Linked DNA regions of Homo sapiens: region 2 is linked to region 1. Evidence: promoter capture Hi-C in 16 types of primary human blood cells and fetal thymus (Javierre and others, 2016). All regions are on one chromosome and are shown on one strand. Each heading gives the region's core, a stretch centred on a gene start or on the middle of the fragment in contact. The rest is flanking DNA. Distances are from core to core; before and after follow the strand shown. Region 1 holds the start of BSDC1 (BSD domain containing 1). Region 2 holds the start of NHSL3 (NHS like 3).

Region 1 (6,665 bases), core at 462-2,961:
TTTCCGTCTTCCACAGGGAGGACCAAAAATAAATAAATAAATAAAATAGATGTGTCCGTCTTCCACAGGGAGGACGTGGGATGGTGGCGGAGCTGGCTGCAGCAGAGCTACAAATAAATATAAAATAAATAAAATTAAATAAAATTAAATAAATAAAAGAAAGTTATTTCAAAGGATTGTCTGAGAGGCAAAAACCTAACTGCAGTGAGTTCAAGAGAGAATGGGAGGAGAGGGGAGTTGCAGACTGTGAGTAGGCAACGCTTTTGCTGTAAAGGGGAGTAGGGAAACGGTGAGGGATATAGAGAGGGCTGGTTTTTGTTTGCCTTTGAGATGGGAGAAACAGCAGTACGGATGATGACAAGGATAAATGCAGTCATCAGAGGGAAAAGAGATGAAGGGGGGATTACTAGATCTATGTCCTTAAGCAAACAAGAGGCGATGGGATCTACCGCACACGTGGAGGGGCTGACCTTAATTAAAGTCCAAAGTATGTGGGCTGTGGAATCTCCCTTCCAATCGCAGTAGAACTCAATCCAGGCGGTCTCCGGATTTCTCCAGACCACCTCCACCTGGCGTTGTTCTGAGCTGGGCCACCGAAAGTTGAGATTACTGAATGTGTGTGTCTCCCATTAACCCGTAAGCCCTCCAAAGGCTGCATCTAAGTCGCCTCTGAATTATTCACATTCCTCCAAACTCTGGGCCACAGCCCCGCAATATGGGCTTATTGAATTAGCCCAAAGAGACACAAAGCAGCCTCTACGCAGCTGGTTTCACAAAGGGGGGCGGTCCTAACCCTGCGCTCTGGGATCCTGACGTTCGAGCTATCTCTCCTCCTCCCCTCTGCTCCCAGCTCTCCGCAGTCCAGCTTGTCGGCTGATCATCGTCCATAGAGGCCACCGTACCCGACGTTTGCGGACAGTGACAAAGAGTCAAGCTTGGTGGAGCCTGAGGACAGGACTGAATGACGATTGAACTGAGAGTTCAGGGGCGGAGTTTGAGGGCGAACTCGGGACAGAGACTGGATAGAGTTCAGGGAGGCGGGACCTAATGATGGCGCAGGGAGGGGATTGGGCTGAGGGCGGTGCCGGCGCGAGGATTGGGCCGAGCGCCTCGGGGGCGGTCCTTGAGGGGGCGGTGCCGTGTCGGAAGTCAAAGGTCAGTAAATAGTGGTGATGTCATGCAGGCAAGATGGCGGAAGGGTGAGCTTGTCGTTTTGCTCCTAGGCGTTGGGGCCTGAATTCTCCCAGGGTTGGGGTGCTGGGCGAGAGTCCCGGTGGGGAACGTGAGATCAGCGGGGGCGTGGACTGATCTGAAAGGGCAGAGTGGAGTCGCATTGTGAGGGGGTGGGCAAGCGGTCTGCGAAGCCTCGGCCCGCAGGGTACATCTGAGCGGGGAACAAACCGGATCCTTGGGCGGGCAGGAATCGCACCGCGGTGCTGCCAGATGTGTCTGTCTTCCACAGGGAGGACGTGGGATGGTGGCGGAGCTGGCTGCAGCAGAGCTACCAAGCAGTCAAAGAGAAGGTAAGCCGGGCCCGTGCCCTTCTTCCCTCAGCAGGGCCCTGCGCCGCCTCAATGCAACCTGGTCCAACCAGCCCCGCCCAACTTTTGCGGGCGCTAAGTCTCAAGGATGAGGCTGACCTGGGCCTTTCTTTTAGCCTCTACCGGTCCACGGGAAGACAGACCTCGACGCAAACCAGTGTGATACTAGCCACAGTGAAATAAAGATGGTTTTAAAGGCTGGAGTTAACGAACGTTTTGTAGGAATCCATAGGAAGGAGCAATTTATTCCAGCTCAGGAAATTCAGTTTCTTCGTGAAAGAGAGAGCATTTGATACAGGTCTTGAAGGAAAAGATTCTAGCAGTAAAAAAACTTACTCGTATAGTCATTCAAATATTAGAGTATATGCGACAACCAGCACTCTGATAGGTCTTGAGGATACAGACTTCAGCCAAACAGATGTAATCCTGGGCCTTACAAAGCTCACAGTCTAGTGGAGAGACAGCCATTAACCGAGTAGCCAAACAAATAGTTGTTTAGTTACCGTTGTGGTAAGTTCTGTGAAAGGAAAGTACAGGGGCACCTTGTCTGTTCTGGTTAGTCAGTAACTCACCAGGGAAGGCCCCTGTGGAGAAGGAACCTCATCAAGGGCAACCCTGCCTAGACAGGATGAAAAGCAAGAACCCAAGCCAGAGATGAGCATGAGCCATACACACTGGTGCCTGATGAGTTCTAAGTAGGGGCTATGCAACGGGCAGTAGAGAGAGAGAGATTAATCACCAGAGAGTGGAAGGCCTTCTTGCTGAACAATCTCTGTGGGATGAGTGATATTTGGCTGTGCCAGTGGGTAATTTGCCAATGTGTATTCCTGTTTCATTTCATGCTTATTTGTCAAAATCAGCCCAACTGAATTGTGGGAAAAGTTGATTACTATTTACCTCAAGCAATTGGGATGAGTCCTGCTTCAGGGCCAACTCCAGGAAGCTTCTGACCTCACCTAAATAAGTCCTCTACTCTGGGAGTATTTTTGTTTTGTTTTGAGACAGAGTCTCACTCTGTCACCTAGGCTGGAGTGCACAGGTGCGGTCTCAGCTCGCTGCAACCTCTGCCTCCCAGATTGAAGTGATTCTTGTGCCTCAGCCTCCCGAGTAGCTGGGATTACAGGCATGTGCCACTACTCCTGGCTAATTTTTGTATTTTTAGTAGAGACAGGGTTTCACCATGTTGGCCAGACTGGTCTCGAACTCCTCACCTCAGGTGAGCCACCTGCCTCAGCTTCCCAAAGTGCTGGGATTATAGGCGTGAGCCACCACACCCAGACATCTGGGAGCGTTTTTATTCCTCCCTTATCCTGGGTACTCCTGGACAGCCTCTCAGCAATAGCCCAGCAAATCTGAGAATGCCCTGAGCTGTTTATGTTGTTGATGAGGACTGAGAGGCTTGCACCCTAACATTTGATAGAAGAGACCCGATAGTAGCATATTTCCTGTTGGGTAATTTCCTGGCAGGAAAGTCTGACATTCATTCAGCAGATGTTGCATGAGGGCCTCCTGTGTTTGTCTCAAGGTTGGTCTTATCATAACTTATGAAAAATAGATAGTTGGCCAACCTTCCGTCTTCATTCTTGGAATTCCCAGTTAAAAGCTGGGGTGGGGGTGGAGGTGGGAGTTGTTTATGCCTTTTTGGAAAGAAAAGACGTAATTTCCCTTTTTTTACTTTCTTACTCTTATATGTACTTGGGCAAGTGTTTTTTGTTTTTTGTTTGTTTGTTTTTGAGACCAAGTCTGGCTCTGTTACCAGGCTGGAGTGCAGTGGCTCAGTCTCAGCTCTGCAACTTCCGCCTCCTGAGTTCAAGTGATTCTCCTGCCTCGGCCTCCTGAGTAGCTGGGATTACAGGCATGTGCCACCACGCCCAGCTAATTTTTCTATTTTCAATAGAGACAGGGTTTCACCATGTTGGCCAGGCTGGTCTCAAACTCCTGACCTCAGGTGATCCGCCTGCCTCGGCCTCCCAAAGTGCTAGGATTACAGGTGTGAGCCACCACGCCTGGCCTCTTGGGCAAGTTTTTAACCTCTCTAGGCCTCAGTTCCTCATCTATAAAATGGGAATACTAACAATACCTACTTGATGAGATTGTGGTGATGGTTAAATGTTAATATATGTAAAACACTAAGAACAGTACCTAGCATACAGTAAGTGCTATATAAGCATTAGCTGTTATTAAGTGCTGAGGCTGATGGGAAAACCTCTTAGATACCACCCCCAGTTCGTTTTTCCTTCCATTTTTTTTCTTGGTCTTTTGGTGCTTTCCTATCTGTATGTCCCATTCTGGCTCCATCTGGACCACTCACTTCTCAGCACTCCTTAGAACACATTGCCCTGAAGACCACAGCTATGAGATGGTGCTATCATCTGCTTTCCTCTGCTCCTTACCTCCTCCTGTCCTGTCTTCCTGTGTGTTGTCAAGGGCAATATGACTGACACAAATACGTGTGCATACACGTTGATAGAGAAAGGCATATCATTGCTCTACATACTTACCAGAAAGAAGAAATTAAAAAGAGAAAGGCACCAAATGCTTTTTGGTTCCATCACAGATTCCCCAACCTCATCTGGGCCCACATACTCTTCAGTCTCCAATTTGCTTCTCCTCCCCTTAACTTCAGAAACTTTCCCAAAACCTAACTCTTCCCTGGGGTCCCCTATTCAGCCGCTTTATCCCTTTCACTTCCAGGAGACAACCTCATCTACTTTTTGAAACTTCAGGTGAACAAACAGGATCTTTAACTCTCTCCCCACCCTCAAAGCCACCACCTATAAACTTATCTTTACTCAGTCAGCTTTACCTACTGCTTGCCAAATCCAGTGGGTGGTTTTCAGCCCTTATCTTCCTGGACCATTCTGCTGCATTTGACGCTAGTGATCACTCCCTCTCTTGAAACGCTACTCTCTTGGCATTTGTGACATGATTCTTAAGTCTCCACATACTTCTCCAGACGTTGCTTTTGTAACTGTCTCATGAGTTCCTCTTCCTCTGCTTGCCCCCTACAGGTAGTGTCTGAGGACACTTGTCCTCAGCCCATTGCTCTGTCCACTTTCCAAACTCTTCCTGGGTCACCTTCTCCACTTTCCTGTTAGGGCGACTCTTAGACCTTTTGCCTGAACTTTAGTGTTGTGTTTTGCTTTGTTTTGAGATGGGCTCTCACTTTGTCACCCAAGCTGAAGTGCAGTGATGCAAACATGGTTCTCTGCAACCTCCACTTCCTGGATTCAAGCAATCCTCCCACCTCAGGCCCCCAAGTAGCTGGGACTATAGGCGTGTACCATCACGCCCAACTAATTTTTGTATTTTTTGTAGAGATGAGATCTCGCCATGTTGCCCAGGCTGGTCTCAAACCCCTAGGCTCAAGCAGTCTGCCCACCTTGGTCTCCCAAAGTGCTGGGACTACAGGCATGAGCCACCATGCCCGGCCAGCTTTAGTGTTTGAGGATAGCTATTGCTGGACAGCTATCCTAGACAGCCCACAGTCATCTCAAGTTCTGCGTGCCCAAAGTCATTGTTACCACCTTGTCTCTAGGACTGCTCCTCCTCCAGGATTTTCTCACTTAGCTGGCAGTACTGCATCTACGCAGTCACCTATTTTAGCAGCCTGTGGTGCTTCCATGATTCTTTTCTAGCCCTCAGTCAACATACCTGTTCAGTCACCAAATCCACCTTCTTCCATCTCCTGTATCTTGAACCAGTCTCATCCTCTCCATCTTTACTAGCATTGTCCTTACTCACATTTTTCTATTTTCTTTCCTGGATTATTGCAGCAGCCTCCTGACTGGTCTTCCTTCTTCCTCTTCTAATCTTCTCGCCTCTGGACCTTTCCTCCATTCCAGTCACTGGAGTAATTTAGTGAAAAGGCAAATCTCATGTCCCACCCACTTCAAACCTTTGGTGGCTCCCCATCATCCATAGGGCTGACCAGGCTCTCCCTGGTTGCCCTTGGCAACCTCTCCAGCTTTATCCCTCACCACTCTTGCTTCACATTTTATGTCCATCAGGACTGTAATGCTTGTAGACGTCACTAAACCCATGTCAACACTTCTTAGCTGACTCCTGTTCTTTTTTTTTTTTTTTTTTGAGACAGGGTCTCACTCTGTTACCCAGACTGGAGTGCAGTGGCATGATCACAGCCCACTGCAGCCTCAACCACCCAGGCTCAGGTGATTCTCCCACCTCAGCCTCCTGGGTAGCTGGGACTATAGGCGTGTACCACCACTTCTGGCTAATTTTTTGTATTTGTGTGTGTGTGTGTGTGTGTGTGTGTGGAGACGGTTTTGCCATAGTGTCCAAACTGGTCTCAAATTCCTGGGCTCAAGCAATCCTCCTGCCTCGGCTTCCCAAAGTGCTGGGATTACAGGCATCAGCCACTGCACCTGGCCCACATCAATACTTCTTAACCAACTCCTGTTCATTCTTTAAGGGCCCATTCCAGGCTTCTGGTCACCACATCTTCCCAACCTCCCCATAGTACAGCAGCTACTGCTCTGCCCTTGCACATCAGCACTATCATGGGACCATTTTCCCCAGTAGACTGTGACCTGCTTGAGGGCAACGTATGTTCATGTTTGTCTGCTCAGAGCTCACAGTCTAGCGGGAAGACAACTGTTTAGTCACACAAGTGGTTACATAATTGAAATTTCAATGGTCCATGTAAATTTAACAAGCAAACATTTTTTGAGTACCTACTGTATGCTCTGTGTCAGATACTGGGGAACCATCAGGGAACAAAACACATAGGACCTGTGTTCACACAACTCACAGTTTATCCAGGAAGACAGACATTGAACAGGTCATCTGAAGTCTAAACTATGTTCAGTGTTAGAAAAGAGATAAATTGGGAGGCCAAGGTGGGCGAATCATGAGGTCAGGAGATCGAGACCATCCTGGCTAACACAGTGAAATCCCGTCTCTACTAAAAATACAAAAAATTAGCTGGGCTTGGTGGCGGGCGCCTGTAGTCCCAGCTACTCGGGAGGCTGAGGCAGGAGAATGGCATGAACCCGGGAGGCAGAGGTTGCAGTGAGCAGAGATCGCGCCACTGCACTCCAGCCTGGGTAACAGAGCGAAACTCCATCTCAAAAAAAAAAAAAAAGAAAAAAAAGAAGAAGAGAT
Region 2 (7,355 bases), core at 3,407-5,906, 350 kb before region 1:
ATAGCACATAGCAGCCTTCCTGTTACTTCTCTTCCCATTCAGATTAGCCAGGACCCTGCCCTCCTTCCATAGGCGCTCGCCTCCTCCAGAAAGCCTCCCCTGATTATCTGCTGGGCTCCAATCCTGGCATCTGTCCCAGAAACACTTCCTACCCACACACTTGTCTAGAGTCCAGGTGATATTTCTGGAAGATATGGATTCCTGTTTGTTTTTGTTTTTTTTAACTTGTTCTTTTTTGTTTTTTTTTTTTTTTTTGAGCTGGAGTCTCGCTCTGTCGCCCAGGCTAGAGTGCAGTGACGCGATCTCGGCTCATTGCAAGCTCCGCCTCCCGGGTTCACTCCATTCTCCTGCCTCAGCCTCCCAAGTAGCTGGGACTACAGGCGCCCGACACCACACCTGGCTAATTTTTTGTATTTTTTAGTAGAGACAGGGTTTCACCATGTTAGCCAGGATGGTCTCAATCTCCTGACCTTGTGATCCGCCCGCCTCAGCCTCCCAAAGTGCTGGGATTACAGGCGTGAGCCACCGTGCCTGGCCTGTTTTTTTAACTTTTTCTTATGTCTGAGTCCTCCTGTGGGACAAAGGTGAGACTCTATCCTCTGTGAATCCCCCTCAATAATCATCATCATCATGGGCTGTTTTCCAAACATGGATCAGGGTGAACTTAACTAATGCTCAAGTCCTCAGCAGCATAACAACAGCAGAAACCTGCTGCCAGCTGCACCATGCTCCACAGTTCACAACGCACTTGCATGTCTGTTAGCTCATTTGATCCTGGAAAGGCCCCTATAAAGCTAGGATTTATTATCCCTATTTTACAGATAAGGATACTGAGGCTTGGAGGGGTGAATAACCTGCCAGCATCTTGTAGCTTGAGAGGGGCAGACCAGGGAAGCAGAGTTGTCCATTTTTTTTTTTTTTTTTTTTTGAGACCTAGTCTCGCTCTGTCGCCCAGGCTGGAGTACAGTGGTGCAATCTCGCCTCACTGCAACCTCCACCTCCCGGGTTCAAGCGATTCTCCTGCCTCAGCCTCCTGAGTAGCTGGGATTACAGGCACGCGCCACCACGCCCAGCTAATTTTTGTATTTTTAGTAGAGACAGGGTTTCACCATGTTGGTCAGGCTGGTCTTAAACTCGCGACCTCATGACCCACCCACCTCAAACTCCCAAAGTGCTGGGATTACAGGTGTGAGCCACCACGCCCAGTCAAGCAAAGTTGTTCTTAGGCCCAGAGCCCATTCCTTCCAGACTGGGTCGTTAGAGCTCAGGTGACTAAACTTATAAACACAGGCATAGCAACCCCTTGCATTTCTATGGTTACTTCTCTTTAATATAATTTTCTTTTTTTTTTCTTTTTTTTTTTTCTGAGTCTCGCTCTGTTGCCCAGGCTGGAGTGCAGCGGTGCAATCTTGGCTAACTGCAACCTCCGCCTCCCGAGTTCAAGCAATTCTCTTGCCTCAGCCTTCCGGGTAGCTGGGACTACAGGTGCACGCCACCTTGTCTGGCAAATTTTTTGTATTTTAGTAGAGACGGGGTTTCACCGTGTTGCCCAGGCTGGTCTCGAACTCCTGAGCTCAGGCAATCTGCCCGCCTCGGTCTCCCAAAATACTAGGATTACAGGCATGAGCCACCACGCCCAGCCTTTAATATAATTTTCATATGCTCTCTTGTGAGAATCTTGGTGAGACAGAAAGGTCACAGCCCATCAAGGCAATGTCCAGCCAGAGGATTCCCCCTTTCTTCCCCACAAGACAGTGGTGGAATCAGGGAGCCCACTGAGAAGTTGCTCATCCTACATCATGGGGCTTGCTAGTAGCTGGGCCAGGATTTAAACTCTCATTGGCCTGATTCTGATACTCTCCCCACTCTATCAAGTTCCCTCACTTCTCTCTCTGGGCCATTTCCCATCTGTAAAGTGAGTTGAACAAGAAGATCTTCAAGCCTTACCTGCTGCTCTATGTCCTTGGGAGAGTCATGAAAACAGTCCCGATTTTTGAGGCAGGTGATTTGAGTTTAAATCCGTTTGGTCAAATCAGTCACTCACTGTCCCTGAGCCTCAATTTTTTCATCTGCAAGTAAGATCTTGACATATTCAGACTAATCAATAAATGTCAGACTTCCTCTCTTCTTCTAAGTTTGTGCAGGGTAGTGAGGTCAGCAAGGGAATCATGGAAGACTGGTGCTCAAAACTCCATGACAAGCTCAGTTTTTCCATCTTAAAGTAGGAGAGTCAGATTAGAGGAATCAAGACCTGCCTCTCATAGGTCTTTGAGCCAGAGATTGGAATGGAGGAGATAATGACTTCCCCAGCAAAGATCCCTGACCTCCCAGGAATCTCCTGTGTATCCCTCCTCCCCACCTCTCCCAATCTCCATTCTGAACATTCTCCCTGAAAGAGTTAAGCCTTCTGCAGGCTTCCCGTTCCTGGCCAGCGTTGCCAGTGGAGATTAGTGGGATCAGATTTATTTCTCTTAATAAACAGAAAAGAAGTTGGGCCAGGCAGGTGACAAGGAAACAGTTGCAATAATAGGAGGCTGGAGTAAAAGGGAACAGGACTTCCTCCAGTCATACCCAGGGCCACCTCCAGACCTGGAGAAACAACAGCCAGGGGCAAGGAGGTGTTACCCATGCACGTGGGCTCAAATCAGGCCGACATGCTGCCCAGAAAGCCCAGAGCCACCTGATACCAAACACAAGGCAAGAGGGAGGCCTGGCCACTGACCCAATGAACCCAAACCCAGGCTGTTGGAGCAGTGACCTACAGGCTCAGCTTTTCCAGCCCCCTGCCTTCCAGGCTGGTCTCCCAGAGGAAAAAGGTCCATTGCCCTGGAGTATACACTGCTAGTCCACTAGCCTTCTGCCTGCCAATCCTGACAGTCTGACCACAATACATCCTGCTGCAATGCCCTCTTGAATGAGACGGGGATGACTTCAGACTGAATCCCAGTGGGGCAGCCCTGGGACAGACTCCATGTCCTGTTAGGACTGCAGAGGCTTTGGAAACACCCCTCACCCAAATCCAGTCCTCCCTCAGGGTTTGGCCCAGTCACCCCAGCCCCAGCACCCTCACTTCTATGTGTGGCTGTGCCGCAGGGAAGCAGGGCCCTTATCCAAAAGGAAGATCAAGCCGGATACAATCACACATGAGGCTTTCCACCCTCTTCCTGACCCCTAAAGTGTTCCTTCTAACTCTCCCAGAAGAGGTGGTTAAAGGACACTGGGAGGGTAAACACAGGCAGAATGGGATGGGCCCGCACACCCAGCCATTTCCTCACCTCCAGCACTGCAGCAGCAGTCTAGGAAAGGTGGACTTCCCAGGACAGCAAGCCCCAAGGGAGCTCCACCCTCTTGCAAAGACTCAAGCCCTCCCCATCAAAAGGAAGACAGAAACTGGAAAATGAGGGAAGGCCCAAGAAAGGAACTGAAAATGACCCCAGCAGGGATGGGCCAGGTCGGCTTCCCCGCCTTTCAGGCTGCCCGTCCAGGCCAGAGGAGGAGCCCAGGGACTCAAATTCAGAAAGACTGAGAATTAGCTGTTGAATTTTAAGTACCCACCCCAGCCCAGGTACAGCCTCTCCACTGAGCTTGGGCCTCAGTTTCCCCCATCTGTAAGCACACTTCCGACACTGGCATGTTTCTCCAGGGCTGGAAGAAGGAGTGATAGGGAGGGGCGGGTTGGTTCACCTTGGTGAGCTCACTACCCCAGGAGGTGATGTTTGTGGCCTGGCCCAGGTGAGCGTTGAGGGAGGCCAGGTGGGAAAAGCCAGCACTGTTAAGAAGCTAAGGCAGGGCACACTGTGCTCCATGTGAGGTCCTTTGTGGGGCTGGAAATCCAGATCCAGCTGGAGCTGAAACTCTTTGTGAGTGCGGTTGACCTTCCAGACCCAGAGGGTCCCCACCAGAGACCCAAGGCCACCTGTCTCTCCCATTGGCCACAGGCCAGCGTTAAGTCTCTGACCCCCTGACTCAGCAGAGGGCAGAACCTCGGTGAGCCTGGGGGAGGGGGAATCGCCTCACCGCCCTGGAGTCGGGCTACCAGCACTTCCTGCTCTGCCAGGGGATCCCTGCCCCAGCCGGGGGTCCCCTCCCCTCACAGCGGGGCAGGACTGGGTCTGGAAACTGCGGAAGGCAGCGCAGGGTGGAAGTGTTCGGACTCAGCCCTGGCCTCTTCGCTTTCCAGCACCAGCTCCTGGGGGTCACCCCCCTCCAACACGCCGCGCGCGGACCCCCGGCAGAGCCCCCTCGGCCGCACCCTCGACGCCCCCCCGCGCTCAGCCCAGGTGCCGACCGCCTTACCTCGGCCTTTGCCCTTGGCCCTCTTGGCCTTGTCCTCCGCCTTCTTGGCCCGGGGGGCGGCCGGTTCGGCGCCCTCGGCCCCCGCCGCCTTCTTCTTGCGCCGCTTGCCCCGCAGCCAGCTGAAGGCGCGGCGGAGGCCGGACGCGCCGGAGCGGGACTTCTTCCTGCGCGGGGGGCCGCCCGGGTTCCCCGGCTCCTCGGCCGCAGGTGCGGCGGGGGGCGCGCGGGCCGCCATGGCAGGCGGGGGCGGAGCGGGCGGCGGGTCAGGCCCCCTGCGGCGCGGTGCCCATGCCGGGGGCGGCCGCCGGGGACGCGCGCCCGGAGAAAAGTTTGGGCGGCGGAGGCCGAGCGGGCGCGGAGAGCGGACGGCGGGAGCGGCGCGGGAGGGGCCGGCCGAGCGGCGGGCGGGGCGCAGGCCGGCGGGGAGGGAAGGAGCGGGGCGGGAGCGGCCGCAGGGCGGGAGCGCCGCTGCCTGCGGCCCCTCCCCGCCTCCCCCGGTCCCGGCGGAGGGCGAGGTCCAGTCCCGAGAGGAGGGGGTCCCGGGAGCCCGGGGTCGTGCCCCCCGCTGGGGCCCGAGAGGGCGGGTCGTGGGGCCGCCCGGGAGGGGGCGGCACTGAGGTTCCGTCCCGCAGGGGGCACCGCGGGAGATCTGTTCGGAAGAGGGTGGTATGGGGTGGGGACGGAAAGGGGAAGGGCGCAGGAAAGGAGGAGCGAGAGGCTGGGGTTGGACCCCAGGAGACTTGGTATCCCAAGTTTGGGCTGGGAATAGACAGGGGATTCTGGAATATTTTTTCCTGGAATAAGGGAATTTGGAGAATTCCTTCCAAGCCCCGACAGTGTTGGGGCGCTTGCGCCAGGAATAGAGGCTTCAGACACGTCCAAGACCTGTGACCCGCAGTGGGCATTTCCCTCCCATCTGCTGACTGGGGTCGCCTCCTCGCTCTTTACCACACCTTCCAGGCTCCAACCATCTTCGGTGTGCAGCGGGGGCCCAGGTCCACTGTGTTCCTGCCTCACCCTTTGGTGGCAAGATGAGGATAGCCCTTCCTCCGTTTACCCTTGGACTAGGATTTGAGGCCCCAGGGCACTCCTGCCTGGACCAGGAGTTCCCACTGAGATGCTCAACACTAATTAGGGTTGAACTCTGGGCAGGTGAGAGGTGTGACTGGGAGGCTGGTAGGAAAGGAAACATTAAGAATCCTGAAATTGCTGTACTCATTGCCTACAGGCCTCTGGGTCTATTACAGCTGACCAAGCCCTTTTATATCATCTGATCCCACGACAACGGAAATGGAGGCCAGAAGGGGACAGAGGTGGTCAGCGGGAGAGGAGCCAAGATGGTCATCTGGGTTTTGTCTCAGGCTGGTCCAAGGCTTCAAACCCTAAGGACTAGAAATTGCGCTGGGGACCAGCTGTGGGTTCAGCACCCTTGAACCTCCTCCGTCAGTCCCCAGAAGGGCCTTGTGATGTCCATACCAGTGGGGTGGCCAGAATCACCCAATCTGACTCTGGTCACACGGCTTTCTCTTGGTCCTGGTCTCCACGAGGGCAGGGGCCCATTTGTCTGGGCCACCCAGCCCAGTCAGCCCCGGCGCACTGTAGATAGCACTCACCATAACATTGCAGGATTACTAGAGTGCAGTGGGATCTCCCTAACCTGCCTTAGCCCCCTGCATGTCCCCAGGGGCTCAGCTGTGGTGAACCTGGGACATCATTGACACTCTCCCACCTGGGGGCCCTGGGGCAGACCACCCAGTGTCCATGCTGGGCCTCAGTTTCTTGTCTAACCACCATTCATTCAGATCCAGCCCACAATCCCAGAGCACCCATTCTGGATCAGGAACCAGCCCTGTACTCTGGGTGCTCTTGGCCCAGCCTAGCACTCCTAAGAACCCAGCCTCTTCCTCTGTTAGTTGGTGAGGAAAGGGAATGTAGAGAATGCAGTTTTCAAGAGAAAAGTGTTACAGGTGCCAGGCATGGTGGCTCAGGCCTGTATTCCCAGCACTTTGGGAGGCCCAGGCAAATGGATCACCTGAGGTCAGGAGTTTAAGACCAGCCAGACCAACATGGTGAAACCCGGTCTCTACTAAATACAAAAACTTAGCTGGGTGTGGTGGTGCATGCCTGTAGTCCCAGCTACTTGGGAGACTAAGGCAGGCGAATTGCTTGAACCCGGTAGGCGGAGGTTGCAGTGAGCCAAAATTGCACCATTGCACTCCAGCCTGGGTGACAGAGCGAGACTCTGTCTCAAAAAAAAAAAAAAAAAAAAAAAAAAAAAACTTATTAAGAATTTCAAGGCCTGCCACAGTGGCTCATGTCTGTAATCCCAACACTTTGGAAGGCCAAGGTGGGAGGATTGCTTGAGCCTAGGAGTTCGAGACCAGCCTTGGGCAACATGGTAAGAGCTCATCTCTCCAAAAAAAAAATTGTTTTTCATTAGCCAGGTGTGGTGACAAGTGCCTGTGGTCCTAGCTACTCACTCGGGAGGCTGAGGTGGGAGGATCCCTTGAGCCCAGGAGGTCAAGGCTATAGTGAGCCATGTTCGCGCCACTGAACTGCAGCCTGCGAAACAGAGTGAAATCTTGTCTTTTTGTTGTTGTTGTTGTTTGTTTGTTTGTTTGTTTGAGACTGAGTCTTGCTCTGTCGCCCAGGCTGGAGTGCAGTGGCACAATCTCGGTTCACTGTAACCTCCACCTCCCGGGTTCAAGCGATTCTCCTGCCTCAGCCTCCTGAGTAGCTGGGACTACAGGCGCCCGCCACCACGCCTGGCTAATTTTTGTATTTTTAGTAGAGACGGGGTTTCGCCATATTGGTCAGGCTGGTCTCGAACTCCTGACCTCAGGTGACCCACGCGCCTCGGCCTCCCAAAGTGCTGGGATTACAGGCGTGAGCCACTGTGCCTGGCCTGACTTTGTCTTTTAAAAAAAGAATTTCAAGAGGCAATAGCAGGCCGGGCAAGGTGACTCACGCCTGTAGTCCTGGCACTTTGGGAAGCCGAGGCAGGTGGATCACAAGGTCAGGAGTTTGAGACCAGCCTGGCCAACATAGTGAAACCCCGT

Evidence for each region. Contacts are between HindIII fragments. The CHiCAGO score rates a contact against its expected background, and 5 or more counts as called.
Region 2: the fragment with the promoter of NHSL3 here is called in contact with a fragment that was not itself captured in region 1 in 1 of 17 cell types (M0 macrophages); the score reaches 5.7 in M0 macrophages.

What each region holds. Positions count from the first base shown.
Region 1 is chr1:32,388,938-32,395,602 of GRCh38, reverse strand. It overlaps BSDC1 (BSD domain containing 1), which reads left to right and starts at 1,162. Exons shown (of 11, transcript NM_018045.8): 1 at 1,162-1,199; 2 at 1,463-1,523. The coding sequence starts at 1,189. RefSeq lists enhancers at 1-29, 777-856, 728-1,423, 1,147-1,436, 1,424-2,121. The HindIII fragment of the contact is 1,550 bases long and covers 937-2,486 here.
Region 2 is chr1:32,739,131-32,746,485 of GRCh38, reverse strand. It overlaps NHSL3 (NHS like 3), which reads right to left and starts at 4,656. Exons shown (of 7, transcript NM_020888.3): 1 at 4,297-4,656. The coding sequence starts at 4,531. The HindIII fragment of the contact is 20,286 bases long and covers 1-7,355 here.